Linked DNA regions of Homo sapiens: regions 2, 3, 4, 5, 6 and 7 are each linked to region 1. Evidence: promoter capture Hi-C in 16 types of primary human blood cells and fetal thymus (Javierre and others, 2016). All regions are on one chromosome and are shown on one strand. The core of a region is centred on a gene start or on the middle of the fragment in contact, and the rest is flanking DNA. Distances in the headings are between cores, read along the strand shown. Region 1 holds the start of NAA15 (N-alpha-acetyltransferase 15, NatA auxiliary subunit). Region 2 overlaps SETD7 (SET domain containing 7, histone lysine methyltransferase). Region 3 overlaps SETD7 (SET domain containing 7, histone lysine methyltransferase). Region 4 overlaps ELF2 (E74 like ETS transcription factor 2). Region 5 overlaps ELF2 (E74 like ETS transcription factor 2). Region 6 overlaps ELF2 (E74 like ETS transcription factor 2). Region 7 holds the start of LOC124900188 (small nucleolar RNA ACA64).

Region 1 (4,337 bases), core at 1,175-3,674:
TGCCTCAGCCTCCTGGATAGCTGGGGTTACAGGCACGCACCACCACACCCGGCTAATTTTTGTATTTTTAGTAGAGACGGGGTTTCACCATGTTGGTCAGGCTGGTCTTGAACTCCTGACCTTGTGATCCGCCCGCCTCAGCCTCCCAAAGTGCTGGGATTACAGGTGTGAGCCACCAAGCCCAGCCTTTTTTTTTTTTTTAAATAAGATCCAAGTACTTAATAAGATGTAACAGTCTCAATAGAGAACATCTTACATATATGGAGAAATTTCACTCAACATATCCCTTTTGTAGAATTAAAGTTTGCAAGGTAAATGATTTTATTTCTTTCTTTTTGGTTAATATTTTTTAGAGTTAGCATTTGGAACATAGTGACATGCAAGCACATGGGGTAAGATGAATTAACTATCATCAGCAGCAGCAGCGGCAGCATATAGCCTTGGATATGTTAACTTTCTGAAAGCATGGCTGTTACTTACAGTATAACTCAAATGGGATCTCTATTTGTGAAATTGTGGTGATCAGAGTAAATATATATTTTTTTATTCAATTCAGGCTACTGTGTGGTCAGACTGTTATCTGTAGGTGCATTTTAACTAGCAAATGAATCAGTTAAATGTTGAATCAGACTAGTATTTGCCGAGCCTTTAAAATTGCCATTTCTTTGTCATCACCCAAAAAGAATGTAACATTTGCCAAACTCTATTTCTGGCTCATCTAATCAGGTACTCAGGTTCTGGTGGAAGCTACTGATTGTTTCAAAGACCAGAAATTTTCTTCCTCTGAAGGAAAATAGAATATTCTTTACAGGAGAAATTTAGAGAACTATAGCAAATAGTATTGCTGTAGGGATTTTTGGATATGAAGCCAGAAATTTGGATATGAAGCCAGAGATTTGGAAATCCAAGCTAAAACTATCAACTGCATTTAGACTATTTTTTCTGTCTTTCAATAGTTCAGACAGTTGAAAGATCTCTTGGGGCAGTGAATTTTGCAGGTTATTACTAAGTAACAGCTTAAAAATGAATTATAAGCTTGTTCTTAGTTTTATAAAGTTAAGGTTAAAATACTGGCCATATTTCAAACTGAAACATAGTTTCCTGTATATATGATTTTTCTCAAACTTTTGAAGAGAGATCACAGAATTTAAGGAAACTCCAGGATTTGACTGTTAAAAACCTTATTTATGACCCCGGTGAAGGGCGAGGACAATCAATATAGCAGCTACAAAACCCAAGTTTATATTGGGAAACATGTATCTCAACTCACACCTTTCAGGGACAGTTAAGAGAAGTTTGAAAATTAAAATATCTTTGCAAATAAATTTAAAACAGTAAAAAACACGCACATATTGTTTAATAATTCATGATGCAAAGAATGCTACAGAGTGAAATCAGGATTTGGAAAGAGGTAATCAAAAACCAAAGGTTAAAAGTGGCTCATATAACTTGAAAATTTTTAGATCAATGGAATGCCACTTTGAAAAAGTTTTACGGTCAGCTGTTAATGAAATGACTTACATTTTTGGAAGGACTCCTATTCGGTATGTAGTCTGACCTCGCCTACTCGAGTAGTTCCCTCTAGTATCCTTGCCAGTCTTTGGCTTCTAAGATCTGAGAATTTCTGGGGATGGGGAGTTCGAGTCACAATATTAAGAACTAGTTTGAAGCCAGCTCCAGGGTAGTCTGTCTTTAAGTCTCCACTACTCCGCTCCAAGGTGACTCATAAGGTCGGTCCGTCAACTCTGCATTATATGGCCTCAACAACGAAATTAAAACACATACTTTAACCTCCAGAGCCTCCTTTGGCAGTGCAAATATGTCACTTCGGATCTGACTAACTACCTTTCCAGGCTGATCTTAAGCAACATTCACCAAATTACCGATACGACAGCCAGGCCCATTTCATCGGTCAAGCTCTTTCACGATTTCCAGACTCTGTTAAGCCCCTTTCTCCCCAGGGCTGTTAACAAGTCTCCACTGCGGTGAAGCTTTTTTCATTTTCCACTCCGCCTCTGCTCCTTAAATTAGGCATTTCGTCCATAATCAACTACAGCGCTTCTCAAACACCTACACCTGTATTTTAGCACTTTGGGCTCAAACGATGATCACACAGTGTGCGAGACTCTTTCCAAGGAATGAAAGGTCGATCTAGCAGGAAGGCGCCAGAGAGGCTGTTTTTGATGAGGAGGCGGTCTGAACCGTACTTGCCTAGCCTCCCGTAGCTCCGCGGGCGCTTCGAGGGTACCACGCACTGAAATGATGGGCGGGGCCTGCCCCGACCCTCCCGGCCTCCACAGGCAGGCCAGCCTCCAGGTTTCCCGGCAAGCTCCGAAACCCAGAGGAGGTGGGGAAAGGAGGTCACCGCGCCTGCGTGTTAGGAAGCGTGACCCGGGTGGGAAAACCCTCCGCGTCCGCCATTTTGGCTGCCTCTGTCGGTCTGTTCAGTTACCACGTGAACCGCCGACGGAGACCCGTAGTGGGGGAGGCGGCGGCAGCGTTAAGTGAGAAAGGAAAAAAGACAACGAGGAAAAAGGAGGTGTCCGGGTAGGGCAACGCGGCGACACCCGAGGCCTGGTGGTGGCGGCGGATCGAGATATTCAAGGCTGAAGCAGCTACGGAACGGCAGCGGCGGCGGTCGGACAAACTGACTGACCGAGCCGGGTGGTGGCGGGAGCAGCGGGAGCAGCCGGAACGATGCCGGCCGTGAGCCTCCCGCCCAAGGAGAATGCGCTCTTCAAGCGGATCTTGGTAAGTGTGAGGCTCCGGGCAAGCGGTGGGGAGGATTTAGCCGGTAACCGGGCCTGTCACCCCTAACCTCGGCCCGGCGGGCACTGAGCCACTCCCGCCCGGGACCCCGCCTTCATAGCTCTCGTCAGGCCGAATGCATTGCTTTGCTCCCTCTCTGTGGTTCCTACTATGGCCCGCGCGCCAGGGACCACAGGCTTCTTCATTCCATCCCCACGCTTGAGGCCCTGGTTCCGGACTAGGCCCCGACCTCCCGGCTTCTAGACTGCCGGTTCTCATTCTCCCCGATCTGGGGGAGAAGAGGCCCGGCCTTTGGCGGGCAAGTGGGCGACACCGGCAGGAGTCGCGGCCCGGTTGGTGTGGGAACCCTGCTGGCAGGTCGGGGTGGCACCCTTGGAAGGAACAGGTGGTGCGGATGCAGCAGGCTCATTCATTGCCTAAACGCGGTTCTCCCTCCATCATCTGTCCCTCCCTCTTCCTCCTCTCTTGGGATTCACCTGTCTCCGCCCGGCCCGGGGTCACCCAATGACCTGAGAGGAGGGAAAGAAGGAGTTCAGAGAAGGAAAGAAAGCTTTTCAAACGACTACCTCCTTGTAGTCAGTTGCATACTGGAGTCTTCAGCTCCTCTGCCTCCGTTGTTCTCGTTTCTGGAGTAGGGATGAGGCATTTATTTCTTAGTTTCCGAGCGGGAAACAGCCCCACCCCGTCACTCTTCTCGGGAGGTGGGGCCCATTGCGAGGGGGCGGTTCGGTAGGAAGTAAAAAGTTGAGTCTTTAGTTGAAACGTTGCAGACCTAGACTTTTCTTATACACTGAAGTATATTAACACATGCAAAAACTTACCAGAGAAATGAGAATATAAGAACTTTTGAGATGGATTTTGTTGACGCTAGCTCAGACTTATTCCCTACGGTTCAAATGTGTGCAGTTTGTATTTTTTTAAACCATAAATGCATTGATGTTTGCAGGGACTGTTTACATTGTAAAATATGTCCTGTAGCCTTGGAGCTATAATTAACACATTGTAGCACATTTTTTGTTTGGCATTTAGTATGTGGGTTCCCCCTTTCACGCAAACGTTTCCTTATGATAGAATTAACTGTATTTGCCAAATTTAAGACTTTTAAAATTTGGGATGTGTGTGTGAAAGTGTTAGCCTTTTCCCCCGCAGTTATAATTTATTTCACCTGTTTGAAAAGTAGAACAACTCTGGGGATTCAGTTTTTCTAGAAATGAATAATCATCCATTTGAACTAACTTTGATTTTACAAAAGTGTCCATATGCCCTACAGATTTAGTGAATTCATTTTGAAAAACATTAGAAAGTCACATGCAGTGTCGCAAAACTGTTACCTTGAAATTCTTACTGGAATTTTGTTTTGTTTTAAGACTAAGAGTGTAGGTGGAGCTGTAAAATAGTTTTAGGAAAAAAGTTACTTTTAAACCCTTAAAAAGACTAATTGGTGTGCAGGTAGAACTGTAACATAAGTTTAGAATAGCAATTTATCTTTAATCTCTTTTTCACAATTCTTTATTTTGAAAAAAATGAAACTGAAAAGTTGAGAGAACAAGGAACACTCATAAACCTTT
Region 2 (4,337 bases), core at 1,246-3,745, 240 kb after region 1:
AAAGAAGCCGTGGAGTAGTAAATCCTTTAAAATCAAATTGGCATGTGAAGGAGAGGCATCAACAATATAAACAAATAAAGCTGAATGAATGACCTCATCTCCACCTCATAATTAGGCTAAAAACCACATGACCCTAATATTCCATAGCCCCCGCAAAGCCAATCTGAAGAAATATCTCCTTCTTGTTCACCATTCTAGGATTGTGAAAAGTCTTGCCTTTAGGTTCATAAATCATGGTCAAAATAGAACAATTAAAGAAAGATACATGAAAATAAACATCCAGAATCTAGGATTAGTATAAAAATTAGAGATGTGTGTATCAAAGTATTTTGAACACTACACGTTTTCATCACACCCCATGGTACTCCAGCAAATCCACGGGTACCAGACAGACTCCAGATCCACACCAACAAAGCCTCAAGATTCCTGTCACCACGCTGCATCAATTCCTTTATCTCGGGACCGAGTGGATGTAAAGAAGTCCCAGTTACTGAATCTCAGGATAATTTCTTCTTCCCTTTTAATAGAGGAGGCGGGAATGGACACAATATCTACTTTAAAAACAATTTTTAAAATAAGGTTATGTTCTCATTCATTCCTTATTTGTAGGGCAAACCATCTGGTAAAGCATGAGTATTCTGATTTTAGGTTTCTGACTTAATAAGCTGGTTGTAGTAACTTAGCTTTTCTCTTCCACATTTTGTCATATAATGAAGAAAAGACTAAATATTATGATCTCAAAACTAGCAAACATTTTGAATCTGAGACAGTTGTGAACAGGTAAACAATGTACATTTTTGCTATTTAAACTGATTTAGAAATAGATAGCTATTTCTTCCATATGCTGAAGAGGTATGTGCACTCCCATGTTTATTGCACTATTCACAACAGCCAAGATATGAAATCAACCCAAGTTTCCATTAACAGATGAATGAATAAAGAAAATGTGGTATATACGTACACAATGGTATACTATTCAGCATAAAAACAAAACGAAATCCTGTCATTTGTGACAATATGAATGATCCTAGAGGACATCATGTAAAGTGAAATAAGCCAAGCACAAAAGGACAAATACCGCATGATCTCATTTGTATGTGGGGAATCTGAAAAAGCTGATCTTACAGAAGTAGAGAACAGAACAGTGGTTAACAGAGGCTGGGGAGTAGAAGGCAGGAGGGAAGGATGGGGAGAGGTTGGTCAACAGGTACAAAGTTACAGTTAGATAGCAAGAATAAGTTCTGGTGTTCTATTACATAACAGGGTGACTACAGTCAACAGTAATATATTGTATACTTCAAAATAGCTAGAAGAAGGGATTTTGAATGTTCTCACCAGAAAGAAATGATGAATCTTTGAGGTGATGGATATGCTAATTACCCTGATTGATCATTACACAATGTGTTTATGTATCAAAATCACACTTTACCCCAGAAAAATGTAGAATTATGTGTCAATTAAAATAAAACTTTAAAAATGCCTATTTCTATATTTTACCTTGAATATGTTTAGTTAAGATGTGCAAATTCTCTGCCAATAGTAATTACTTCTATGGCATGGGTTGGGGTTAAAAAAAAGCGGGGGGGAGCACTTTCACATTTCTGAATTTCTTGAAGTTTTGTTTTATTCCACTAAGCATTTGTTATGTTTGCAATTTAAAAATAAAATAAAATATTCTGCTTCTATTTACAAATTTGGTTTTAAAATTTCACAGGGCTATTTTTCCTAGTTATCTGGATATTTGAAATTCTTATTCAGATTTATCTCATTCGATGTCAAGGGAAACACTGATTCTATAATTTTCTTGATATGTTTATATTTGTTTGGATACTTCTCATAAATCATATTCTGGGGTTCAGTTTTCATATAAAATTAGAATATTTAGGCCAAGTCTTCCATTACTACACTGTGATTTTCCTTGTCTCTTTCCTTGTCGGAACATGGGTTCCCACAATTTCAGACAAACTCTTTGATGGGGACACAAATCAGCATAACAGGTTTCAACAACTTTCTTCAATACAAAGTTTTTGTCTCCTCGCTTGTTATTCAAAACCTAATGCCAGCCTTTCTTAAGGAATTTTTCCAGACCAAAGGTTGATGACTGACAATAAAGGCAAAGCATTCCCACTTAATTTTACCCAACACATCAAGCTCTAAAAGCCGGGGATGGGAACAGGGAGAAAAAGTAATAGACAAATATAAATAAAAACTGCTTCATGTAGAAACAACTGACTTATCCATAATCAAATCCCACATCTGCCTTAGAAAACCCTGGTAGATTCTCGACCTTTTATTCAGTTGTAAGACTCTCTTACTAATTTTTACAGCAAATCCTTTTAGCAGATGTCTCGTAACATGATCAGTATTTGGGTTTAAGAAGATGAGGACGACCTTTTGAGATCCTGTCACCACACTGTTCCATCATGTGTAATAAAACCAATGATACTGACATTTTCCCCTTAAGATATTAACTCCCGTCTATCTGAAGATAACCAAGATAATCTCTTGAGGTCCTCGCTAACACTATTTTTCCTTGATTCTATTTAATCAACATCTCCACTGGTGTTTGAGTGGTAGATATAAAAATTAGTGAATTGGGTGGGCGTAGTGGCTCACACCCGTAATCCCAGCACTTTGGAAGGCCAAGGCGGGCGGATCACGAGGTCAGGAGATCAAGACCATCCTGGCTAACAAGGTGAAACCCCGTCTCTACTAAAAAAATACAAAAAAAAAAAAAAAATTAGCCGGGCGTGGTGGTGGGCGCCTGTAGTCCCAGCTACTCAGGAGGCTGAGGCAGGAGAATGGTGTGAACCCAGGAGGCGGAGCTTGCAGTGAGCCGAGATCGCGCCGCTGCACTCCAGCCTGGGAGACAGAGCAAGACTCCATCTCAAACAAACAAACAAACAAACAAACAAAAATTAGTGAATTGGTTAGGCTGGGCACAATGGCTCACGCCTGTAACCCCAGCACTTGAGAGGCTGAGGCGGGTGGATCACTTGAGCTCAGGAGTTTGAGACCAGCCTGGGCAACATGGCAAAACTCCATCTCTATAAAAAATACAAAACAAATTAGCCTGGTGTGGTGGCATGCACCTGTAGTCACAGCTACTCAGGAAGCTGAGGTGGGAGGATCACCCGAGTCCAGGGAGGTTGAAGCTGCAGTGAGCTGTGATCATGGCACTGCACTCCAGCCTGGGCAACGGAGTGAGAACCCATCTAAAATAAAATAAAATAAAATAAAATAAAATAAAATAAAATAAAAAGAATGGTGAATTCGTGCCTCAAAAGGAAAAAAAAAATCAATGAATGTATTTCTAGCCTATAGATAGTTACTGGGCTAGTGCTGCCACTTGGCCTGGTGCTTCAGCTTGTTCATATCGTGACACACCTGCAAATTAATGCATTTGTCTGACACACTGGGGTAAGCGGATGAAGCTGTTTGGGGCTAGAAGTTACTAGCTGGATATGAGAAGACAGGTGCCCAGGAAGTCTCAGGCCCCACTTTGCTATCTTACCCTAGGGCTGAGGGGATCAGCATCTTGAAGCTAACAAGTAGCTCATTCTCGGCACACTGGTTCAGAATTTTAGTCTAGCCCATCAGTACTCTGTGTATCAGCCCCATAAAGCAAGCAGGTAACCAACACCAAATTCAAACAAATCTGCTGGACTGTTTTCCCAGAGTCAATCAGTTACTGGCTATCATCATCAAACTACCAGATTTAAAGTGTGTGTGTGTGTGTGTGTGTGTGTGTGTGTTTGTGTGTGGAGGGGGAGGCGGAGGGGGTGTTCTGGGTGAATTCTACCCTCTCTTTCAGCTCCCACTCTCACTTAGCAAGGACTTCTTTTTAGTATCAAATTAAGAGAAAGTGCTATGAAGCATAAAAGATGTAATAGACACAGATTCTGCCCTCAAGGAAACCTCTGTCCTTGGAGATGAAGGAGACATTTACATAAATATGTACTTGTTGAACGAATAAAAAAATTTGCAGAATAAGGTTAAAAGTGACACTTTTCAGAAAAAAGAGCTATAAAAAAATTGCAGTGGAAATGGGGCAGGAAAAGTTTCCCTCTGGATAGGTTAAAAGAGTCATAGGAAAGAAAAGCAGTGATACCAACTTTTTTTTTTTGAAACAGGGTCTTGCTCTGTCACCCAGGCTGGAGTGCTCAAGCAATCTTCCTGCCTCAGCTCCCCAGCAGCTGGGACCACAGTTCCCAAGGTCTCTACACCTCGTGGCAGAGACAGGGTCTCACTATGTTGCCCTGGTCAGTTCTCAAATTCCCGGGCTCAAACAATCCTCCTGCCTCAGCCTCCCAAAGTGCTGGGATTACAGATGTGAG
Region 3 (4,337 bases), core at 473-2,972, 220 kb after region 1:
GTATGGCTATGGTCTTGTGTTTCGGAGCTAACAAAGAAGCTAAACCCTTCCCTTTGTAACTGGGCCAGAGCCTCATGTCAAAAAAGAGTCCATTCATCATTGTGACATTGTGGGGTCAGCCCTGTCAGTTGAATGGAGGAAGAGGCCTATTTCTCAGATGGGAACAGAAACTGAATGGGAGGTAAGCCATGCTTACAAAACACGAGGCAAAGAGAAAACCAATTTCAGATAGTACGCTTATTCATAAACAGATCTGTTGCTAAGGAATAAGAAGAATCCCAGAGAGGGTACCAGAAAAAGCCACATCAAGACTCAAGAGCTAGAGTTTAGCCATCCTCATAAATAAGACATGAAGTAGAACAGGATGTGACCCTCTGGGAGTGGGCTTACAAACCAGAAACTTGTCATTTATAAGCTAGAATGTTTTTATGCCTCTTATACTTTCTTTGTTTCACTCTTGTCTTCTGTTTGTGAAAAAAGAAATTGTCTTGTGTTCCAGAACACCTCCGCTGGTCTAAGATGAAATGGAGGCATCCTGTGTGCACAGGCTAGAGCTTTAAAGAGCATGAAATGTTCCCCTAGAGGGCCAGCATGTGACTGCAGCACAGACCCTAAGAACGGGAATGCTCGGCCAGGACACAGCTGGCTGCCTGGCCCAGCTGCTCTTTTTTTTTTTTTTTTTTTTTTTTTCTTTTTAGATGGAGTCTTGCTCTGTTGCTCAGGCTGGAGTGCAGTGGCATGATCTCGGCTCACTGTAACCTCTGCCTCCCAGGTTGAAGCAATTCTTGTGCCTCAGCCTCCCGAGTAGCTGGGATTACAGGTATACGCCATGACACCCAGCTAATTTTTGTATTTTTAGTAGAGATGGGGTTTCACCATGTTGGCCAGGCTGGTCTTGAACTCCTGACCTCAAGTGATCCGCCCGCCTTGGCCTCCCAAAATGCTGGGACTGCAGGCATGAGCCACCATGCCTGGCCTCAACTGCTCTTTCTACCTGGAGGTTTTACTCTAGGACAGACACACAAGCTGTTCTGTGATTTATGGGTGAGGAAACTCTCTTACAGGGTCAGATTCTACATAAGAATAAAAACACTCTTCCTCAGAATATAGAAATATTTATTTGAGGGTTGGCAAAGGAAAAGGACACTTTCATGAGGAGCTTGGTCTGAGCTGGAACCCAGCCTGGGCAGAGAGCCAAAGAGGTGCATAAGTTCCTACCACTAGGCTTATTTAACCTCACATAAACAGTGCAATTAAAACCCCAAGGAGGAAATTACCTTTCTGATTCATAAGGATCTGGAAGAAGAGCATTGGTAGAAATGCAAGATGAAGTCGACTTATCAAAGTGGTACACTGAATCTGAAAAGCAAACAAAAATACCAGTATAGGTGCAGAGTTAGGGAAGAGCATTTATAACACTTCTCTCTATTCATGGGACAACGAAGAGTTAAAAAACCAAAAATCTTAATCAAGTTATACCAACTAGAATGAAGTTCTTCAATTTAAATGGATACATTTTAGATTTACGCTTCAGTTTTATTTTCAGGCCTTCATGAACAGCCATCAGATGCATCTCTTAACATTCCAATTCACTCTTGAATTTTCCTTATTAAAATGACTTAAAGGATGCTTGGGAATCAATAAAATGCTTTGTCATGAAATTCTGAGATCTCTTGGCTCAGATCAAATTGGATGATGGTTTTAAATTTTTCTGGTGGTTTTCTTCATTACAGATACAGTCTACAGAATCCAACAACTGAACACTGGCAGTTGTCTCCTTCACTAAGAATAAAATTCTGCCTCACCAGAATTAAGGAGAACAGCACTGCTTTTGATAAAGCATTAACAAAGTAATCTCCTTTCTATTACGGTAGTTCAGAAGCCAATTAGTAATTTACTCTAGAAATCAAGGCACACAACCACCCTAGAAGGAACACTGGCTCTCTGTGAAGGATTAGCTTTAGAGAATCCTCACAGACAGCACTAAAGATAGATGCTCTGAAGACTGATAGGTAAAGAAACAAGATTTAGAATCAGAGGGCTTACTCCTGCAAAACAAATGATTATATACACTGAGGGAAAACTCATAATCCCATTAAGCAATTCTTCAGTAGTTACTAATGGTTACTAGGTCCTCTTTCTGTTTGTTTGTGAGTGGCTTTTTTTGTACAACCAAAACCCCAATGAATACCTGAAACTAAAAGTCAGAAACCAATCCAAATCAGTCAGTGTCCGCACAGAAACGGACCATTTGAGTGTTTCAAAAAGAATTCAGTTCAGGGAATTGGTCATACAGGGGATGGAATGCTGACAAGCCAGATGGAGCCGTGAAGAGCCCAGACACTGGCAAGAGCAGGAAGCTGCCACTGGAGGCCGGAGGGACAGAGGGCACAGTGCTGCTCCTGGAGCTCTGGAGCTGGGGTAGTTGGAACTAGCCTGGGCCTTCCTCATGGGAGATGGAATCAGGAGGTGATGGGGCCACTGCTGGAGATGCTGGTTGACACAGAGAGGGCTTCTTCCTGCTGCCTTCTCCTGCTTTGTCCCCAGCCAGCCAGTGGCCTCCCTTTGGCCAAACTCAGACAGAAGTCAGACACACAGGAGCCTGAAAAATGCAGGCTGCAAGGGGCAGCAGCCTCTTGCAATAATAGCGGGCAGTGAAAGAATGATGAATGGATTGGATCTGAGAGCAAAGTGGTAACAGACCACCAAGCAATCCACGAAAAGCATTTAAACCACCCTCCCCCACTTTTTTTTTCTTTTGAGACAGTCTTGCTCTGTCACTCAGGCTGGAGAGCAATGGCGTGATCTCAGCTCACTGCAACCTCTGCCTCCCGGGTTCAAGCGATTCTCCTGCCTCAGCCTCCCAAGCAGCTGGGATTACAGGTGCCTGTCACCATGCCTGGCTAATTTTTGTATTTTCAGTAGAGATGGGGTTTCGCCCTGTTGGCCAGGCTGGTCTTGAACTCCTGACCTCTAGTGATCCACCTGGCTCAGCCTCCCAAAGTGCGGGTATTACAGGCGTGAGCTGCTGTGCCCAGCCGTCACTTTTTATAAATAACCAAAATTGTGTGTGGAATGTATGTTCTATTGAGTGGAAATTTTCCTATGAATTCCATCTAGCTCCTTAGACTAAAATTTTTATGACAAATTTACTGAGTGCCAGCTACATGTACAACACTAGGGACTGTGTAGATACAATAAGGATTAACTTCTGTTGCTGCTTTCAGGGAGTGCACACTATCTCTTCCAATGCCTACTGTCTCTTCTTCTGCTGCCTTAGACATGCCCAGGCTGCAGGCACATCCTTTACTTTTACAGATTTTACACATCCTTTACTTTCCCTCCTTTCCTCTATAGTATGCTATGCCCTTTGACTAGAATTCATTTATTCAATGGACAAACATTCATTATAAAAAGTGAGTTAAGCCTTAAAGATGGAGTAGGAATTAGCCAAGGAAAGCAGTTACTATGTGGAGTAGGGCTGATCAGGTGAGAAGCAGTGGCATAGGTGAGAAACTCCACAGGAAGTAAGTAGAGAATTAGAAGTAGTTTGTGGTTACAAAAGCACACAGAGAAATGGAGAAGCTGGTGAGGCGACAGGTCAAGGAGTGTTTTATGTGAGATATTTGCATTAATTTCTCTCCTTCCCCAACCATTGGACGCTACAGTCACAGGACCCTGTACCCCCTAACCCACTGGCCAGTCAGCAGGTCAATAATTATAACTGGAAGGGGCAGAGGAGAGATACAAACATGGCAGAACATTAGACTAAAGATCGGTCTATAGGATCTTCAGAGTGCCAGAGCAGCCATGGTTCCTGGCCCTTTTGAGGCTCAAACTATTCAACATTTCAAAACACCTGAGGTCTGCAGGAATCTTGCCAATAAATCCCCCCTTTCTTTTCTGCGTTAAGTTAATTTGAAGTGAATGTTTATTTGCAACCAGAAGGTTTTTGTTGTTGTTGTTTGTTTTTGTTTGTTTGTTTGTTTGTTTTGAGACAGAGTCTCTGTGTCACCCAGGCTGGAATGCAGTGGTGCTATCTTGGCTCACTGCAACCTCCACTTCCCAGGTTCAAGCGGTTCTTGTGCCTCAGCCTCCTGAGTAGCTGGGACTGTAGGCACACTCTACCACACCCAGCTAAAGCAACCAGAAATTCTAAAAAAATAATAATTCCCTTTAGAATTCTCACTCTCAACAATTTTTTTTTTTTTTTTAAAGACAGGGTCTCACTCCTGTCGCCCAGACTGGAGTGCAGTGCACTCAGCTCACTGCAGCCCTGACTTCCTGAGCTCACGTGATCCTCCCACCTCAGTCTCCCAAGTAGCTGAGATTACAGA
Region 4 (4,337 bases), core at 491-2,990, 200 kb before region 1:
AGCGGAGATAGCACCACTGCACTCCAGCCTGGGAGACAGAGGGAGACTCCGTCTCAAAAAAAAAAGGAAGTATCGGCCGGGCATGCTGGCTCACGCCAGAATTCCCAGCACTTTGGGAGGCTGAGGCAAGCGGATCATCTGAGGTCAGGAGTTTTAGACCAGCCTGGCCGAGATGGTGAAACCCCATCTCTACTAAAAATAAAAAAATTAGCCAGGCGTGGTGGCGGGCACCTGTAATCCCAGCTACTCGGGAGGCTGAGGCAGCAGAATTGCTTGAACCCAGGAGGCGGAGGTTGCAGTGAGCTGAGATCATGCCACTGCACTCCAGCCTGGGCGACAGAGCAAGACTCCATCTCCAAAAAAAAGAAGTATCTTTTTGCTAACTAGATCGGAGACATAAATGTTTTTTTTTTTCCCCCCTGAGACAGGGTCTCGCTCTGTCAGAATGCAGTGTCAGGATCACAGCTCACTGCAGCCTTGACCTACCAAGTGCAAGCAATCTGCCCACCTCAGCCTCCAAGTGGCTGGGACTTCAGGCACCTGCCACTATGCCCGACTAATTTTTGTATTTTTTGTACAGATGGGGTTTTGCCATATTGCCCAGGCTAACCTTTTCTTTTTGATGTAAAACTTTCTCATGATCTTTTGCAAGTTCATCTACTGATAAGAAAATCTCCCAAGTTCTAGCTGTGATATTGTGAAATATGTGTGAAATATATATATTTAGTCTTGCTCCCCATTTCCTGGCATACAAGTCCTAAAATCCTTGGAATCTCCAAAGTAGTAAGTGTTCTTTTGTGTGCTAAAGATTGAGTAATGGCTGGCAGCCCCTAGGTATCTTCAGGATGGGGGCTAGTCACCAGAAAGACCAAGGCAGGATTATAGGGTTGGGACTTTCAGCCCCACTCCCAACCTCTGGGCCTCGGGAAACAGGGCTGAAGGTTAAGTCAACCACCAATAGCCAATGACTTAATCAATCATGCCTACTTAATCAAGCTTCCATAAAAACCCAAAACGAATGAGTTCAGAGACTTTCCTGATAGCTGAACATGTGGAGGTTCCTGGAGTGTGGCATGCCCAGCAAGGGCATGGGACCTCCATGACCCTTCCCCAATACTTCACGCCCTATGCATTTCTTCATCTGTATCCTTTAAATATCCTTTATGATAAACTGGTAAATGTGTTTCTCAGAGGATCTGATGCTATCTCCAAGTAGACAGTGTCAGAACTGAATTGAATTAGAGGACACCCAGCTGGTGTCCACTACAGAACTGACTGACTAGTTTATTGGTCGGGAGAAATCCCACACACTTCATGGTAATCAGATGTCCCAGAGGTCTTCTGTGTTAACTGTTGAGAGCATAGTGAGACAAAGAGTTTGCTTTTCTACTCACTAACAAATAATTGTTTAAAGATATTCTTAAGTCCTGAAAAATAATTGCATATTATCACCACCCAGTTTAATATAAAACATATGAAAAGTATTTTAGTTAAATAAAAAAAGTAATTGCTCATTCCCTTCAAGTAGTGTATATATTTTGGCATATTTACAAAGTGAAAAGAAATCAAACACCCAATTATGACCAAACACTGACTTTAAACCAGGAGAAAACAGCATAGGACTTCTTTCATTTAAAAACAAAAACAAACAACAACAAAAAACTGTTATTCTAATGAAAATAAAGGCTATAAAGCTACATTTGTCTCTTGATATACTCAATGAAAAAAATATACAGGAATGTTGGCTGGGCACGGTGGCTCATGCCTGTAATCCCAGCATTTTGGGAGGCCGAGGTGGGCAGATCACTTGAGGTCAGGAGTTCGAGACCACCCTGGTCAACATGGTGAAACCCTGTCTCTATTAAAAACACAAAAATTAGCCAGGCGTGGTGGTGCCCACCTGTAGTCCCAGCTACTCAGGAGGCTGAGGCAGGAGAATAACTTGAGCCCGAAAGGCGAGGTTGCCGTGAGCTGAGATCGTGCCACTGCACCCCAGCCTGGAAGACACAGTGAGACTCTGTCTCAAAAAAAAAAAAAAAAAAAGAAAAGAAAAGAAAAAATATAGGAATGTAAAAAATTTAAAAAGTCATAGTTAGTCCTACTTCACCTCCTAATTCCACTCCCAAATCATAACCAATTACTGCAAACAGGCTGAGTTCTTAGCATTGTTCCCTGATTTTTCCATCAATGAGGACAGGAAAATCTTTCTGATTTTTTATGGTATTGTTACACACATAAAAAATTAAAAATAATGAGATTTAGGAATACTTAATTCCATTTGACTTGTTCCTCTGCCTCTAACCAGAGGCCTTCACTGTCAACTCTCATGATGACATTTAAATGGGACCTACCACAATAGCAATAATGTAATCTGGAACATTTGAATTCACTACCATACTTGGCAATTCTTTCCCTCACCTTTCCCCAACCCTATCTACTCTATAATACTATTATTTGCCTGAATGCTCATTTTTCGCAACTTAGTAAGCTTCTTTGAGGCTAGAAAGCATGTGTTATTCAACAACGAATTGTTCACTTTCTAGGAGCCATGGCAGTAATATAGGTAATGTGTACATGATAAATGTTAAGATTACCAATTAACTATCTCAATTGTACCTAATAACTGTCATATGGAAAGGGAGAGGAAAAAAACTATCCACTGCTTTAACTGCTTGAAAAGAATAATTCATGAGTTTATTATTTTAGCTTAATTCCATATATTTACTTTAAAGAACAATTTCAAGTTATATAATTTGATTTGTGACAAAGTAATTTTACTGTAGTGCAAACTTACATGTTTTGTCCACTAGATTCTAAGTACCATAAATGTAGAGACTTTGCCTTTCTTGTCTACATTGTAGCCCCGTGCCTTAAAATAATGCCTTGCATTTACTAGGTGCTCAATGAATGCTTAATGATGAATAGTAATGATGTGTTACACTATTTCATACACCTGAAAGGACTTTACCATCCTTTTACTCCCCAAAACAATTTTTTATGATGGGTATAATATAGTAAGAAACTACAGAGTTAACTGAATTTTAACAATGGCAGAAACTCCCTTTCTGTGCTGTCATTTCCAACACTCTAGGGATAATGATTGTCAAAAAATGATCCTGGCCAGGCACTGTGGCTCATGCCTGTAATCTCAGCACTTTGGGAGGCCAATGTGGGAGGATCACTTGAGGCCAGGAGTTTGAGACCACCCTGGGCAACATACAGAGATTCCATCCCTACCAAAAAAGAAATGATAAAAAAATTGCTGAGTGTGGTGGCTCACACCTGTAGTCCCAGCTACTTGGGAGGCTGAGGTGGGAGGACTGCTTAATCCCAGGAGTTCAAGGTAGCAGTGAGGTATAATGACACCACTGCACTCCATCTTGGGCAACAGAGTAAAACCCTGCCTCAAAATAATAACGATCCCTGGCCAACAGCAGCCTTATCACCTAGGGACTTGTTAGAAATGCAAATTCTCCAGTTCTACCACAGATCCACTGAATCAGAAGTCCTGGGGATGGGTCCAACAATCTGTATTTTAACAAGCCCTTCTGATAATTCTTATGTATGCTTAAGTTTAAGAACCATTGGCCATGGAAATTTTTGTCATGGAGATAGAAGGGATCTTAAACCAACAAAGAGGTCATTAAAATATTTAATAAACATTTAAAGAAATATATTAAATGTTCAGCCAAAGAAATTAAATTCTCACTCCATTAACGAATATGAAAAATTACCACTACATGACTGAGAGGCTTTTTTTCCTTTAAAAAAAGAATACAGCAGGGATCATAAAACTGTACTTAAAATGTGACATATTTAAACTGGCTTTCAGATCCCTAGTATGGATTATTAGAGAAAAGAGAATGGAAGTAGGGCAGAACATAGAGGAAGAAAGGATGATGAAAAAAAAGGTAGATGACAGTTAAAATAATACATGGGTGAGACCTGGGAACAATAGTTTTTTAGCTTCTAACTAAAATTTAGCTCTTTCGTTTTAAATAAAAGCACAAACCACAGTTGTTTTAGTAGTATCTGTGACTTCATGACCAATATAAATCACAGATATTTTCATATCATATTACGGTTTTTTTTTTCTTTGAGACAGGGTCTCGCTCTATATAATTTATGGTTGTCACTACTTTGAAATTATAGCAGTAAATTATATCTGTCACTAGATCTCATTATTTAATATATTAATACAGAAACACATGCATTGATATATATCACAATTTAAAATAGTTTGATAACTATATTTCTTTTTTTTTTTTTTTTTTTTGAGATAGAGTTTCGCTCTTGTTGCCCAGGCTGGAGTGCAATGGCTTGATCTCGGCTCACTG
Region 5 (4,337 bases), core at 1,314-3,813, 180 kb before region 1:
CTTACATTTTCTTTTTGTGTTGAAGTAAATTTTAAAATTATCAAATATTCAAAAACCACTTACAAAAAAAACAAATCACAAAAGTAACTTATTTTACCTAGACTTCCCATATCCTCCTTTTCACAATCACTAATATCTCTGCCCAGCAAATGATATCATTACCCTCAGAGTTCAAGAAGACTAAGAAAATAAAATCCCTTAAGTAGATTACATTCGCTTCCTATTCTGAATTGGTTTTACTTGAATTAATCTAAATTAATAAAACATTTACAGTCAATTATACCAATAATAAGATTCAACCAATCTGCTCTGGTATTTTAATGTGATAAACATCCTAATTTACTAACTTATGCAAATTTGGTGCTATAGTTTTTATCTTTTTTAAAGTTTCCAACTTGCTATCAAAATCATAGTTTTCCTTATTTTTTGACCAAAACACCATCCAGAAATTTCAAACAGGTTCTACTTTTTTCCATTCAACTTAAGCTACCATACTTTTTTCTTCTGCTATTAGTGTTCTGTTTAGTTATGCTCTTGTAATAAAATCAGTTACAATATATAATCCAAAACATCATCCTACAAAATACTTTTAACTGTTCTACCTATCCTTTTCCTCAAGAAGAAAATTCAACTCTGCCACTATACTTCTAGCTTCAGACTGGAAAATTCTCCAAACTCTCATAAAAAGATATGCACTATATACTGTAAATCAGATACCACTCCAGACTACAGTCACGAAGCCCATATGAAGTCCTTGGATGCCTGGTTTTTTGTTTATTTGTTTAGAAATGGGGTCTTGCTATGTTGCCCAGGCTGAACTTGAGCTCCTGACCTTGAGCGAGCCACCTGCCCCAGTCTCCCAAGTAGCTGGGAGTACAGATGCACACCACCACACCCAGCTTGGCTGCCTATTTTGATAAATGAATTTTCCATTATACCTGAGGTTTGCTAGCACTGCAATCATCAGTGCTCTGAAAAGCAAGGTAACTTTCAATCCCTTAGCTCCACAAAAAATAAAATTAGAGGAAGAACAGTTTTATGCTGGAAGAGGCTAGTAGCCCTAAGGGGTACTACTGGACCTCATAAGAAGAAATACATCACATACTCAAAATTTTAATCATGAAAGTTTCCTACATTTATAAAAATGTATCAAAATAGTAAAGAATTTTTACTAGGATTAAACAACAAGTATAATGATTCTTTTTCTCCATTAACAGCTAAAGATGATACATTTGCATGTTTATTATTATGTAAGAGTCACTACAATCCTTCTGATAAAATACTCTATTTTCTTCATAATCAATGGCAAAAACTAAAAGATTTCTCTAAGAATTATAGATACTAATCTCCAATTAAACATATAGCTATCTCACCAGAAATAGACTGAAATACTAAGATCTCTAAGACGACAAAAAGCAAAGAGGAAACTGATAGAACACTACAATGATGCTTCTGATATTAATGAAAAGAAATCTTATTGCTCCATCAATATTAACTCAAAGAAACTCATAATCAATTAGACAATGATAGAATACCATTTTTTTTAATTTAAAAAGCTGTCCTCATAATACTAGCCTATTGACTTGTATAAATAACAGCTAGGATTTATACTCTCAGAAAAAAAATAATAAAATAACTTTATCATTATGTGAAGCTGTAATTTTGTGCATAGAGTCCATGATATGAGACTGTTACACCTCATAGAATTATACAATAGAAGTTTTATATCTACACAAATTCCCTTAAACATAGATGTTTCACTGGTTTCCAAGCTATACTAAATAGCATTAAAAAGGTTTTTCAGTATATTTTTCATCTGGCAATAGTATTGTTGAAGCTTACAAAATGAGAAAGTTATAAATAATGAACATTTTATGAGATGTCTACCTGTTTCCACATTCTCGGTCTCAACTTCTTGTTCTTCTGCCACATCTTGCATCATATAAGTCTCATCATCATAAACCAGAACCTGGGCTGCATAGCCCTGCTCTAATCTGGCACTTGGAACTGGCTCCACAATCACTGCTGGATATTCAGAAACCTTTTCACTTTCCTATAAGAGCAAATTTAAAGAACAATCAACCTTTGTATTTACAAATTCTGAATTCACTTATAAATCCTTGAACTAATACAGTCTCGAGCAGTCCACATAATGAGTTTCAAATATTATAAATATGAATGTAAAAGCCAAAACAAGAGATGAAAAGGGCTAACTTTAATAATCCTTTCAAGTCTCAAGAGGTAAGACATAGATTAAACATTTTAAATAATCTGTGCTTTAGGATTAAGTTGGCAGATTAAAAACATGCATATAATTTCACTTAATTATGAAAGCTGACTAAAACAACAGTAAAAGACTCTTTTATACCTAAACCCACAAGGACAAGAGGTGAGAGCAACAAACAAGAAGAGGTAAGAACAACAAAATCCTGGAAGACTGAAAGTGTCTGGATGAGTATGGAGTGGGTTAGCAGACCCAGCAAAGCCAAATCAGTCTGGCAGCAAAAAAAAAAAAAAAAAAAAAATCTGAGAAACAACACACTGTACAGTGTAGAGAATCTACAGAAAGCAACACCAATTACATGCACTTTTGATTCCTAGACCTTCTCTCTCCTTCATGATGCTAAGCAACCAGACCTCCTCCACCTCAGCAGAAGACAGGTTACTTTCCAGAGAGGAACAACAATAGCATCTTTGAGGCATAATAGGCACAGTTGTTAGCATCATACTCTACCCAAAATGGAGTGTCCAACTAGCTTTTTAGTCCATCACTTTTAGTCATGAACAAAAAGCCAAATATTCATATTCCACACACAGAGAAGATATTATAAAGTAAGAACAGATCACAATTCAGTAAAGAACATTTTAAAATACAAGTAAAAGAATTTTTGGAAATTAAAGATACAATAGCTGAAATGAATACAGGCTTGGAAGATAAAATTGAGGCAATCTCCAGGAACCAGAGGAAAAAAGATAAAGCAATAGAAAACAGGAGAGAAAAGATGGCAATATTAGATGACCAACCAGTCCAGGAGGTCCACTATCTGAATAACAGAGTTCCAAAAAAATAAATCATAAGGAAAAAACAAGAAATAGAAAGGAAAAAAAAAAAAGGTTTGGAAAGAAATCAACAAGAAAGAAGTAAATCAATAAAATTTTCTAAGACTGAAGGATATAAGCCACCCATTTGAAAGGACCCACCAAGTGTCTAGTACAAAAAATTAAGGAACACATACATTGAGGCATATCACTGTGAAATATCATAATATTGGGAACAGAAAAGATTCTACAAGCTTCTAGAAAGAAAACACAGGTTACTACAAAGAATCAGGACACAGACTTCAGTCTTCTCAACAGTCATACTAGAAGGAAGATGACAGTTGAGCAATTTCTTCAAAATTATGAAGAAAAATTACTTCCAATCTAGGATTCTTCACCCAGTCAAATCATCTTATAGAAGTAGAATAAAGGTATCTTCTCAGACATGAAAGATCTCAAACATTTACCTTTCATGTTTCCTTTCTCAAGAAGATACTGGAGAATGTATCCCATCAATAAGAGAGAGTGAATTTTTTAAAAAAGAGAACTATTGCAAATACAGGATAGAAGAGATCAACATAGGAGAGAAACAATGGGAATCTTCAGGAAGACTGTGAAGAGAGATTCCACGATGCTAGCTATGCACCAGATTTAAAGGGCAACCAGTCCAAAATATAGCAGTGTGACTCCTGAGATAGCATGATGAACTGTCATTACTACGATAACCATTGACCTTGTTCCTAAGGACAGAATGTCCAGATCAGTCTGTTCTAGATTTTTATTGACATTTGGCTTACCTTCATGTACCTACTCACTCCACCTGCCCTGCTGCCTGGATCAGCTAAGAACACATTTCACCCCCCAGATGTGTTCTGCTTTGATCTACTATGTGTTGGAGGAAGATTACCATGGGCTTAAAATAAAAGATACAGAACAGCGTTCTTCATGTGACCATATACCTCCTGAACAAATATGCAATACCCAGCCCATACCATACTGTAGCACTGCCAGATACCAGAGCAGGATGTGCCTTACATTTCTAAAAACTCATGGCATTGCTCACTGACTACTTGAAGACAAGCTCATGACACTCAGTGAACCTGACTATTCAGCTATCTTCTCCTGGAAGCCTTCATCTATCTATGATAATATTGCCCTTTCCTAACTCAATTAGCTTGGTAAACTATTTTTTCAAAATAAAATATTGTTTAGGACTATTTTCATAGGTGGCAAAACTATAAAGAAAAGTAAAGAAATTATAATACATAAGTCAAAACAATAGCACCTCTGGAAACAGC
Region 6 (4,337 bases), core at 1,006-3,505, 160 kb before region 1:
TAAGCTATGAAATCTACTCCTACAGCTTCACTCAACTCTCTCTTCCAGATTTGTCTACTAGATGTTTTATTGCCTCTACTTCATTGAAATTAGATAAGGTATACATAAATACTAAGCACTGATGCCAGGATAACCCAAGCACTCCATTCATTAATTCAATCACACAAACACTAAATGAGCACTATTATATGATAGCACAATTTTAGGTGCCCGGGTCCAGTAGTGAATAAAGGCAAAGTCCCTGTTTTTATGGATCTTACACTGCAGAGGAGAGAGAAAAAAATAAAATAGTACACCATACCTGTAGATGGTGATGAAGGCTAAGGAGTTAAATTAACCAAAGAGATAGGGATTATTTGGCAGGGAGAGCTGCCAATTCAGATTGAGTGGTCAGATAAGGACTCACTAAAAAAGTGACATATGAGTAAAAACCCAAAAGTAGAAGTGAGTTGTGGCAATGCCTGGCACAAGAGCCTTCTAGTCAAAAGAAATTCAACACCCTCAAGAGGATGTATGCCTGACTAGTTAAAGGACCGGCAAGGGGACCCAATACAGCTGAAGTGAAGTGAGCAAGAGGAAGAAAGAATAGTTGAAGAAGAGGACAGAAAGGTAAGGGAAGGGAGCCAAGTAGGTCCCCTGTAAGGACTTTGACTTCAGAGAGAAGAAAGGTTTTACACAAAAAGATGATCTGATTATTATAAGGATCATTCAGATGCTGGGTTGAGAACAGACAAGGGGACAACAGCAGAAACGGGGGTCAGTTAGCAGGCTGCAATAATATATGTTGTGCAAAAGTAATTGCAGTTTTGCCATTACTTTTAATGTAATGCAAACTACTTTTGCACAAACCCATAATGAGATGAGAAGTGATACAGGCTGGGACCAGAGTGGTAGTTCTGGAGGTAGTGAAAAAGTGATCATAGCCAAGCATGATGGCACACCCCTTTGTCCCAGCTACTCGGGACGCTGGGCAGGTTGAAGCTGCAGTGATCCAAGATCTCTCTACTGCACTCCAGTTTGGGCGACAGAGTGAGACCTTGTCTCAAAAAAAAAAAAAAGTGATCAATCTTTAGATGTATTTTGCAGATAAAAGGATGACATTTGCAAGCAAAATTGATGTGGATTGACTGCTATGAGAGAAAGAAAGAAGTCAAGAATGAATCCAGGCTGGAGGATTCTCAGATGATGGAGTAGGATGCACCAGGAATCTGTATCCCTATCTAGACAATTGCACTGGCAGAATCTACCTAATGTAACTATTTTGGAACCCTGGCTAAAGGCTTACAACCTCCAAGGGAAGGCTTGAACAATAAACTGTGGTTAATTTCGGTCATTCTAGCTCTCAGCACAGTATCAGCTACCACCCATCCCCCAACTCGAGGGTAGACAGCTGTGCATGTGTTCCTGGAACAGTCTGCATGCAACTTGTGAGGGCCATGGTAAGCAAAAAGGACTATTTTCCAAATATCAGAGATCTGTGCTCTGATCACTGATTATTGCTTCTGATCACAGAGGAGCACACAAAGAAATGAGTAGATATTATTGTTATGCCTCCCTTCACTGTTGCAAGCTTCTCCCCCTCTGGCTGAAGTCACTTCTAGGGGACTTAAAAGGCCAGCAAACCCCATTTTACTCTTTTTCCCCTTTTGAGAGCCACACATTAAAGACCAGGACATTTGGCTGGGCACAGTGGCTCACATCTGTAATCCCTGCACTTTGGGAGGCCAAGGTGGGCCAAGATCACTTGAGGTTAGGAGTTCAAGGCCAGCCTGGCCAACACAGTGAAACCCCGTCTCTACTAAAAATACAAAAAATAGCCCAGCGTGGTGGCAGGCGCCTGTAATCCCAGTTACTCGGGAGGCTGAGGCAGGAGCTCGAGCTCGGGAGGCGGAGGTTGCAGTGAGCCAAGATCGAGCCACTGCAATCCAGCCCGGGCAACAGAGCAAGACTCTGCCTCAAAATAAAAAATAAACTAAAATAAAGACTAGAACATTCAAAAACTATATATATGAAAAAATGTGGAAAGTGACCACACATGCCCAGGCTCAGAAAAGACCTGAGAAGACCTTAAATACACCTTAGCCTGATCCTTGCCACAAAATCAGCCTACAAAAATTTAAATTTTAATTAAAAAAAAAATTCCCACCCTCCTCAAGATGGCAGATTGGAGGTAGTATTGGCATGCCTCTTCCACTTGGAAAGAAAAAATAGTGGGTAAAGACTCAAACTGTGAACTTTTTTCAAAGAAGCAATGCAGGAACTTAATGGAAAAACGGAAACCACAGATCCTTTGAAAGAAGGGGCAGGCTGCAGTCTACACCATGAGCCAGGTAAAAAACTGTAAGTCCCCAGAGTGTGAGAGGGAGAGAGATTACCTCCAGAGTATACACCCCCACTATGAAAACTAGAAATCCGGCCCACAGAGGAAGGCCTTAACCCCACCCAGTGCTAAAACTAATATAGGGAGCAGTGGAGAATATACAAGAAGCACCAGGGGCGGGAAGAGCCTTGTGCGTATTCCCGGTCTCCAACGCAAACCAAGGGAAGCTATTCCTGATTCTGTGTCACAGGAGAGTTCACAAAGTTCTGCCAACCAACTGAGGCAGTGGTTGCAGGTTGAAAGAAGCTCCCAATTTGAAATTCAAAATATAATCTCAAGTGGGGATGAACTGCCTTGGCTGAACTGGGCGGATGACTGGGAAGTAAGCTGTAACCACAGACACAGAAGTTGGGTGCTCTGGCATTGCCAGTGGATGAAAAGGGGCGTGGCCTGAAAGCTGAGGTTCCTGTATGTAAACAGCTTGGAATTTAGCTAGCTGCTGCTAGTGAACACTCTGAGTGAGAGACTTGCCTTGCCAAGTGTGTAGGAGCTGGATGAGACTTACTCCCACCTGCTACTCCCCACTCCCTGCATGAACTCTTCTGTGAAGCAGAGGCAGCTAAGCTTTTTCCTGGAACATTACCCCAGTGGCCAGGGAATGGCTCCAAAAGCCCAACATGGATCTGTGCTTACACCACACATGCAGAGCCAAAGAGCAGGCCTGCCTGACCAAGCCCCCCACCTGGCTTTGACCCTCCACCTGCCCTGGTAGGTTAACACAAAAGACAGAAACTTTGGGGAGCCCTATGGCCTCACCCATCATCTGATAAACCAAAATACCTCCCATGGGTAACATAAGACAAGCACATATCCCACCACTTCAACCACAGCTGGCACTCTTTTGCAAGCACCACCTCCTGGCTGGAGGCCAACAGACACAGTTTACTACAGCAACTACAGGTAAAATAACATTGCACCCAAGAAGGAGAAAACTTATGCATGACCCAGTTATCAGCACTGTCTGCAGTACCCTGGCTAACCAGGATGTCCTGAGTCTGTCCACATGACCAGTTTATTAATACTACAACCAGCATTTAAGAAAGCCAACGCACTACGGCTATTTACAACCAAGGAATCTCACAACGTATGTCATTCCCCTGTTACCCCTATGAGAGCTGGTGCTGGTACACATTGCTGGGAGACTTGAGGACAGATAACATCACTGGATCCCTTGCAGACATTCCCCAGAATCAGCCTGGAATGTGGTAACCCCACTGGGCAGCTAGACCCAGAGGAGCAGCAGTACTCACAGTAGTCTGGCTCTCAGGGACTCCTACTCCTAGGGCAAGGGGGACAGCACCACATCAAGGAAGCAACCTGTTCTTCTTCATTCTATGAAGTCAGTATCACCCTGATACCAAAGCCAGGAAAGGATGTAACAAAAAGAAAGAAAACTACAGACCAATATCCCTGATGAACATAGATGTAAAAATCCTCAACAAAATACTAGCTAACCAAATCAAATGGCACATCAAAAAGATAATACACCATGATCAAGTGGGTTTAATCCCAGGAATGCAGGGATGGTTTAACATATGCAAGTCAACAAATGTGATATATCACATAAACAATTAAAAACAAAAACCACATGATTGTTTCAATAGATGCAGAAAAAACATTCAATAAAATCAAGTATCCCTTTATGATAAAAACACCCAAAAAACAAGGCACAGAAGGGAATTATCTCAAAATAATAAAAGTCATATACGACAAAGCATACTGAATGGGAAAAAGTTGCAAGCATTCCCCCTGAGAACTGGAATAAGACAAGGATGCTCACTTTAATCACTTCTTTTCAACATAGTACTTTAAGTCCTGGCCAGAGCAATCAGGCATGAGAAAGAAATAAAGGGCATCCAAATTGGAAAACAGGAAGTCAAACTATCGCTGTTTGCTGATGATATGATCGTATACCTACAAAATGCTGAAGATTCCTCCAAAGACTATTAGATTTGAT
Region 7 (4,337 bases), core at 1,351-3,850, 130 kb after region 1:
GCTGGGATTACAGGCATAAGCCACTGTGCCCAGCCTGAATATTGATATGTTTTTTAAGTTTGGGCTGGTGTCTCACTAGCTCACGTGTCCCCCAAGTCCACTAGTTACGAGCCCAGCACAGCATTAGAACTTTCTAGGCCAGGTGCGGTGGCTCAGGCCTGTAATCCGAGCACTTTGGGAGGCCGAGGCAGGTGGATCATGAGGTCAGGAGTTCAAGACCAGCCTGGCCAAGATGGTGAAATCCCATCTCTACTAAAAATACAAATATTAGCTGGGCATGGTGGTGGGCACTTGTAATCCCAGCTACTCGGGAGGCTGAGGCAGAGAATTGCTTGAACCTGGGAGGCGGAGGTTGCAGTGAGCCAAGATTGCGCCACTGCACTCCAGCCTGGGTGACAGAGCCAGACTCTGTCTCCAAAAAAAAAAAAAAAAAAGAACTTTCTAGGAGATGCAGTCCTTGTGGCCTAGACCGTCTTTCAGGTTTATTTAGGACTGTAGGGCATGTTAGCCCATGGTGGCAAAGCTTGCTGAAACTCATGTTCTGACCTCTGGGATGGGCAAATTCCCTCTGGCTAGGGCTGGTCTAAATGCTCCCTCTGAGGATGCTGGCTGAGTTCTGCCCAGTGTTGCTCTCAACTGCAACATGGGAGCACTAAATTCCAACACAGTCCCACAATCACTGCGATCTCCCTCCTTCAACTGTAGAGTCTCTCTGTGTGCCACGTGGCCACTGCTGGGGGCTGGGGAAGGGGAGGTGTTAGCAATTTAAGACTGTCTTTCCTACCCTCCTCAGTGTCTCTTTCAGTCATATGAAGTTAAAACCAGGTACTATGAGTGCTCACCTGATTTTTGGTTCTTATGAAGGTGCTTTTTAATATAGATAGTGGTTAAATTTGGTGTCCCTGTCAGGAGACACCTCCACAATTGGTGGAGGCTTCTATTTAGCTGTCTTGCTCTGCCTCCTCCATTTTGTTGTTGTTGTTGTTGTTTTTTTAGACAGACTCGCACCCCGGTTGGAGTGCAGTGACACAAAAATGGCTCACTGCAGCCTTGACCTCTGGGACTCAAGTGGTTCTCCCACCGCAGCCTCCTGAGTAGCTGGGACTACATGTGTGCACCATCGTGCTCAGCTCATTTGTGTTTTTAATTTTTTTGTAGAGATGATGTCTTACTATGTTGCCCAAGCTGGTCTCAATGTCCTGGGCTTAAGGGATCCTCTGGCCTCAGCCTCCCAAAAGTACTGGGATTATAGGCATGACCTGTTATTGTTTATGAACTGTGTGCTCTTTACAATTTTCTCTTTGCAAGCATTTACTCTTTGATTTAACTCACCATTACTACAACCACTTGTCACTCATAGATTTGCCAGAGATTAGGTAAATATTTTACTTGTTTCTATTAATCTTTTTTTAAATGTACATGTAGCTTGCATTTATTTCAATGTTTAAAACTGGAGATGTTTTGGGTCTTTCTTTAGAACTTTGATGATGTTTATAAAACATCTGTAGGAACTTAATTCTTGTTTATATAAATTAGCCTTTTTTTTTTTTTTTGAGACAGAGTCTTCCTCTGTTGGCTAGGCTAGAGCACAATGGCTCAACCTCAGCTCACCGTAATCTCTACCTCCCGGATTCAAGTGATCCTTCCACCTCAGCCTCCCAAGTAGCTAGGACTACAGGCTTTTTTTTTTGTTTTTGGTAGAGACGAGGCTCACTCTATTGCCCAGGCTGGTCTTGAACTCCTGAGCTCAAGTGAACCTCCCATCTCAGCCTCCCAAAGTGCTGGGATTACAGGTGTGAGGCAGTGTGCCTGGCAAGCCTATGGCAAAACTGGCTTCCTGATGTATCATTTGCTTAAAGTCACAGTTTCCAAGTACCTATCAACATTAAGTGATGACTTAAACTGTATAATCCTTTAACTATACTGCTGAATTCTGTTTGCAAGTACCTTTCTGAGGATTTTTGCATCAGTCTTCATAAGGGATACTGGTCTGTAGTTTTCCTGTAGTACCTTTACTGGCTTTGGTATTAGGTTAATGCTGGCCTCATAGAACGTGTTAAGGGTATGCCCTCATCTTCAATTTTTGGGAAGTCTGAAATGATTGATACAGTTCTTCTTTAAATGCTTGGTAGAATTAATCAGTGAAGCCATCAGGTTTAGGGCTTTTCTTTGACAGGAGATGTTTGATTACTGATTGAATCTCTTTAGTAGTTACAAATCTACTCATATTTTTTATTTCTTCATGGTTTAGCCTGGTAGGTTTAGTGTTTCTAGGAATTTCTCCATTTCACTTGGGTTATCCAATTTCTTGGCAGACAATTGCTGACAGTATTCCCCTATAACTCTTTTCATTTCTGTAGAAATGGTAGTAATGTCTTCATTTTCATTTCTGACTTGTCTCCTTTGTTATAAGTAGATCTAGCTAGAGATTTGCAAAGTTTTTTGATTTTTGAATAACCAACTTTTGGTTTCATTTTGATTTTTCTATATTATTTTTCTAGTCTCTATTTCATTTATATCTATTCTAATCTTTACTACTTCCTTTCTACTGCTAGCTCTGGGTTTAGTTTGCTCTTCCTTTTCAGTTCCTTAAATTGGAAAGTCCGGTTGGTGATTTGATATTTTTCTTATTTTTTAAATAATTTTTAATTTTGCTTTCTTCAGACCAGACTCTTATTTTTTAATGTAAGAATTTATAGCTAGAAACTTCCCCCTTGGCACTGCTTTTGTTGTGTCTCATAAGTTTTGGTATGCTGTGTTTTCATTTTCACTTGTCTTTATAAGTATTTTATTATTTGTCTTGTGGTTTCTTTTTTTTTTTTTTTTTTTAGACAAACAGCTTTATTTGAAAGACGGAGGACAGCCGAGTCCCCCCGACCCCGTGGTCCTGGCGACATCGGTCTCACGTGTGGGAAGACCAGTGTCCTGTGGAGAGAAAACAGGGTTAGGGGTCGGCAGCCTGGGTCAGGAGCCAGACCACGCGAGCGGCCGCACCCAGGGAGAGGCCGCGGGGCCTGTTGGGGCTGGGTTTCACCGCCGCACATGTGTCAGCGTGCGGTGAGCTGAGGCCCCTGGAGGCTCTGGGCGCCGAATCTCACCCGCTGCCATGGCCAAAGCCGGGGGGTGATTTTCAACCAATGCCGGGTGGTTTCTTTTTTGATCTAATGGTTAAGAGTGTGTTAATTTCTATGATTTTTAAATTTTCCAGTTTTCTTTTTGTTTTTGATTTCTAAGTTCATCCCATTGTGGTCAGGGAAGATATTTTGCTGTCTTTTAAAATCAATTCAGACTTAATTTATGACCTATCTTGGAATTTATCCTATGTATACTTGAGAAGAATGTGTATTTCATTGTTGGGTAGAGTGTTCTGTATATGGTTGTTAGATCTAGTTGGTTTATTGTGTTGTGAAAGTCCTATATTTCCTTGCTTAGATTTTGATGGTTCTATCCACTACTGAGATTGGGATATTAAAGTCTCCAACTATTAATGTAGAATTGTACTTCTCCCTTCAATTACGTCAATTTTTGTTTCATATATGTTGATGGTTTGTCATTAGGAGCATACATGTTTACAACTGTTAAACCTTCTTGCTGTATTGAACCTTTTATGTTTTTTATTTTTTTAAGACAGGATCATGCTCTGTCGCCCAGGCTGAAGTGCAGTGGTGTGATCATAGCTCACTGCAGCCTCCAGTGCTTTGGCTCAAGCTATCCTTCTGCCTCAGCCTCCTGAGTAGCTGAGACTACAGGCACATGCTACCATGCTCAGCTAATTTTTTAATTTTCTGTAGAGACAGCGTTTCACTGTGTTGCCCAGGCTGTCTCCAACTCCTGGTCTCAAGGCACCCTCATACCTTGGTCTCCCAAAGTGCTGCGATTACATGCCTGAGCCAACGTGCTCATCCTGAACCGTTTTTTAGTATATAATGTCCTTCTTTGTCTTTAGTAATCTTTTTTGCTTTGAAGTGTATTTTGTTGTATACTAGTATCGCCATCCTTAATATTTGGTAATTAGTTTCATGGAATATCCTTTCCCATTCTTTCACTTTTAACCTGTTTTTGTCTTTGGATCTTAAGTCTCTTACAGACAGCATATACAGTCATGTATCATTTATGTATGGGTATATGTTCTTAGAAATGCATTGTTATGCAATTTCATCATCATGTAAATATCACAGAAGGTACTTACACAAACCTAGATGGTATGGTATAGCCTATTGCTCCTAGGCTACAAAGCTGTTACGGCATGTTACCATACTAAATACTGTAGGTAACTATAACCCAATGGTGTTTGTATATCTAAACATAGAAAATATATAGTAAAAATACGTTATTAT

The links. Contacts are between HindIII fragments. The CHiCAGO score rates a contact against its expected background, and 5 or more counts as called.
Region 2: a contact is called between a fragment that was not itself captured here and the fragment with the promoter of NAA15 in region 1, in 1 of 17 cell types (total CD4 T cells). The highest score is 5.4, in total CD4 T cells.
Region 3: a contact is called between a fragment that was not itself captured here and the fragment with the promoter of NAA15 in region 1, in 4 of 17 cell types (non-activated CD4 T cells, total CD4 T cells, naive CD4 T cells and 1 more). The highest score is 5.4, in non-activated CD4 T cells.
Region 4: a fragment that was not itself captured here is called in contact with the fragment with the promoter of NAA15 in region 1 in 17 of 17 cell types (total CD4 T cells, total CD8 T cells, naive CD4 T cells and 14 more); the score reaches 31.7 in total CD4 T cells.
Region 5: a contact is called between a fragment that was not itself captured here and the fragment with the promoter of NAA15 in region 1, in 6 of 17 cell types (naive CD4 T cells, total CD4 T cells, monocytes and 3 more). The highest score is 6.7, in naive CD4 T cells.
Region 6: a fragment that was not itself captured here is called in contact with the fragment with the promoter of NAA15 in region 1 in 2 of 17 cell types (monocytes and total CD4 T cells); the score reaches 7.8 in monocytes.
Region 7: a fragment that was not itself captured here is called in contact with the fragment with the promoter of NAA15 in region 1 in 1 of 17 cell types (total CD4 T cells); the score reaches 5.8 in total CD4 T cells.

The regions. Positions count from the first base shown.
Region 1 is chr4:139,299,081-139,303,417 of GRCh38, forward strand. It overlaps NAA15 (N-alpha-acetyltransferase 15, NatA auxiliary subunit), which reads left to right and starts at 2,425. Exons shown (of 20, transcript NM_057175.5): 1 at 2,425-2,751. The coding sequence starts at 2,698. NDUFC1 (NADH:ubiquinone oxidoreductase subunit C1) reads right to left here and starts at 3,397. Exons shown (of 6, transcript NM_001184989.2): 1 at 3,336-3,397. RefSeq lists enhancers at 1,816-1,935, 2,416-2,475. The HindIII fragment of the contact is 1,328 bases long and covers 1,990-3,317 here.
Region 2 is chr4:139,541,075-139,545,411 of GRCh38, forward strand. All of the region lies in intron 2 of SETD7 (SET domain containing 7, histone lysine methyltransferase), which reads right to left. Among named protein-coding and RNA genes, the nearest start is that of SETD7, 13 kb to the right of the region's middle. The HindIII fragment of the contact is 7,497 bases long and covers 1-4,337 here.
Region 3 is chr4:139,522,077-139,526,413 of GRCh38, forward strand. SETD7 (SET domain containing 7, histone lysine methyltransferase) reads right to left here. Exons shown (of 8, transcript NM_030648.4): 5 at 1,278-1,359. Among named protein-coding and RNA genes, the nearest start is that of SETD7, 32 kb to the right of the region's middle. The HindIII fragment of the contact is 8,290 bases long and covers 1-4,337 here.
Region 4 is chr4:139,102,485-139,106,821 of GRCh38, forward strand. The region is part of intron 4 of ELF2 (E74 like ETS transcription factor 2); the gene reads right to left. Among named protein-coding and RNA genes, the nearest start is that of ELF2, 73 kb to the right of the region's middle. The HindIII fragment of the contact is 1,492 bases long and covers 995-2,486 here.
Region 5 is chr4:139,123,277-139,127,613 of GRCh38, forward strand. It overlaps ELF2 (E74 like ETS transcription factor 2), which reads right to left. Exons shown (of 10, transcript NM_001331036.3): 4 at 1,888-2,053. Among named protein-coding and RNA genes, the nearest start is that of ELF2, 52 kb to the right of the region's middle. The HindIII fragment of the contact is 1,456 bases long and covers 1,836-3,291 here.
Region 6 is chr4:139,141,823-139,146,159 of GRCh38, forward strand. The region is part of intron 1 of ELF2 (E74 like ETS transcription factor 2); the gene reads right to left. Among named protein-coding and RNA genes, the nearest start is that of ELF2, 33 kb to the right of the region's middle. The HindIII fragment of the contact is 1,374 bases long and covers 1,569-2,942 here.
Region 7 is chr4:139,433,356-139,437,692 of GRCh38, forward strand. It overlaps LOC124900188 (small nucleolar RNA ACA64), which reads right to left and starts at 3,139; the gene lies at 3,013-3,139. The HindIII fragment of the contact is 4,158 bases long and covers 522-4,337 here.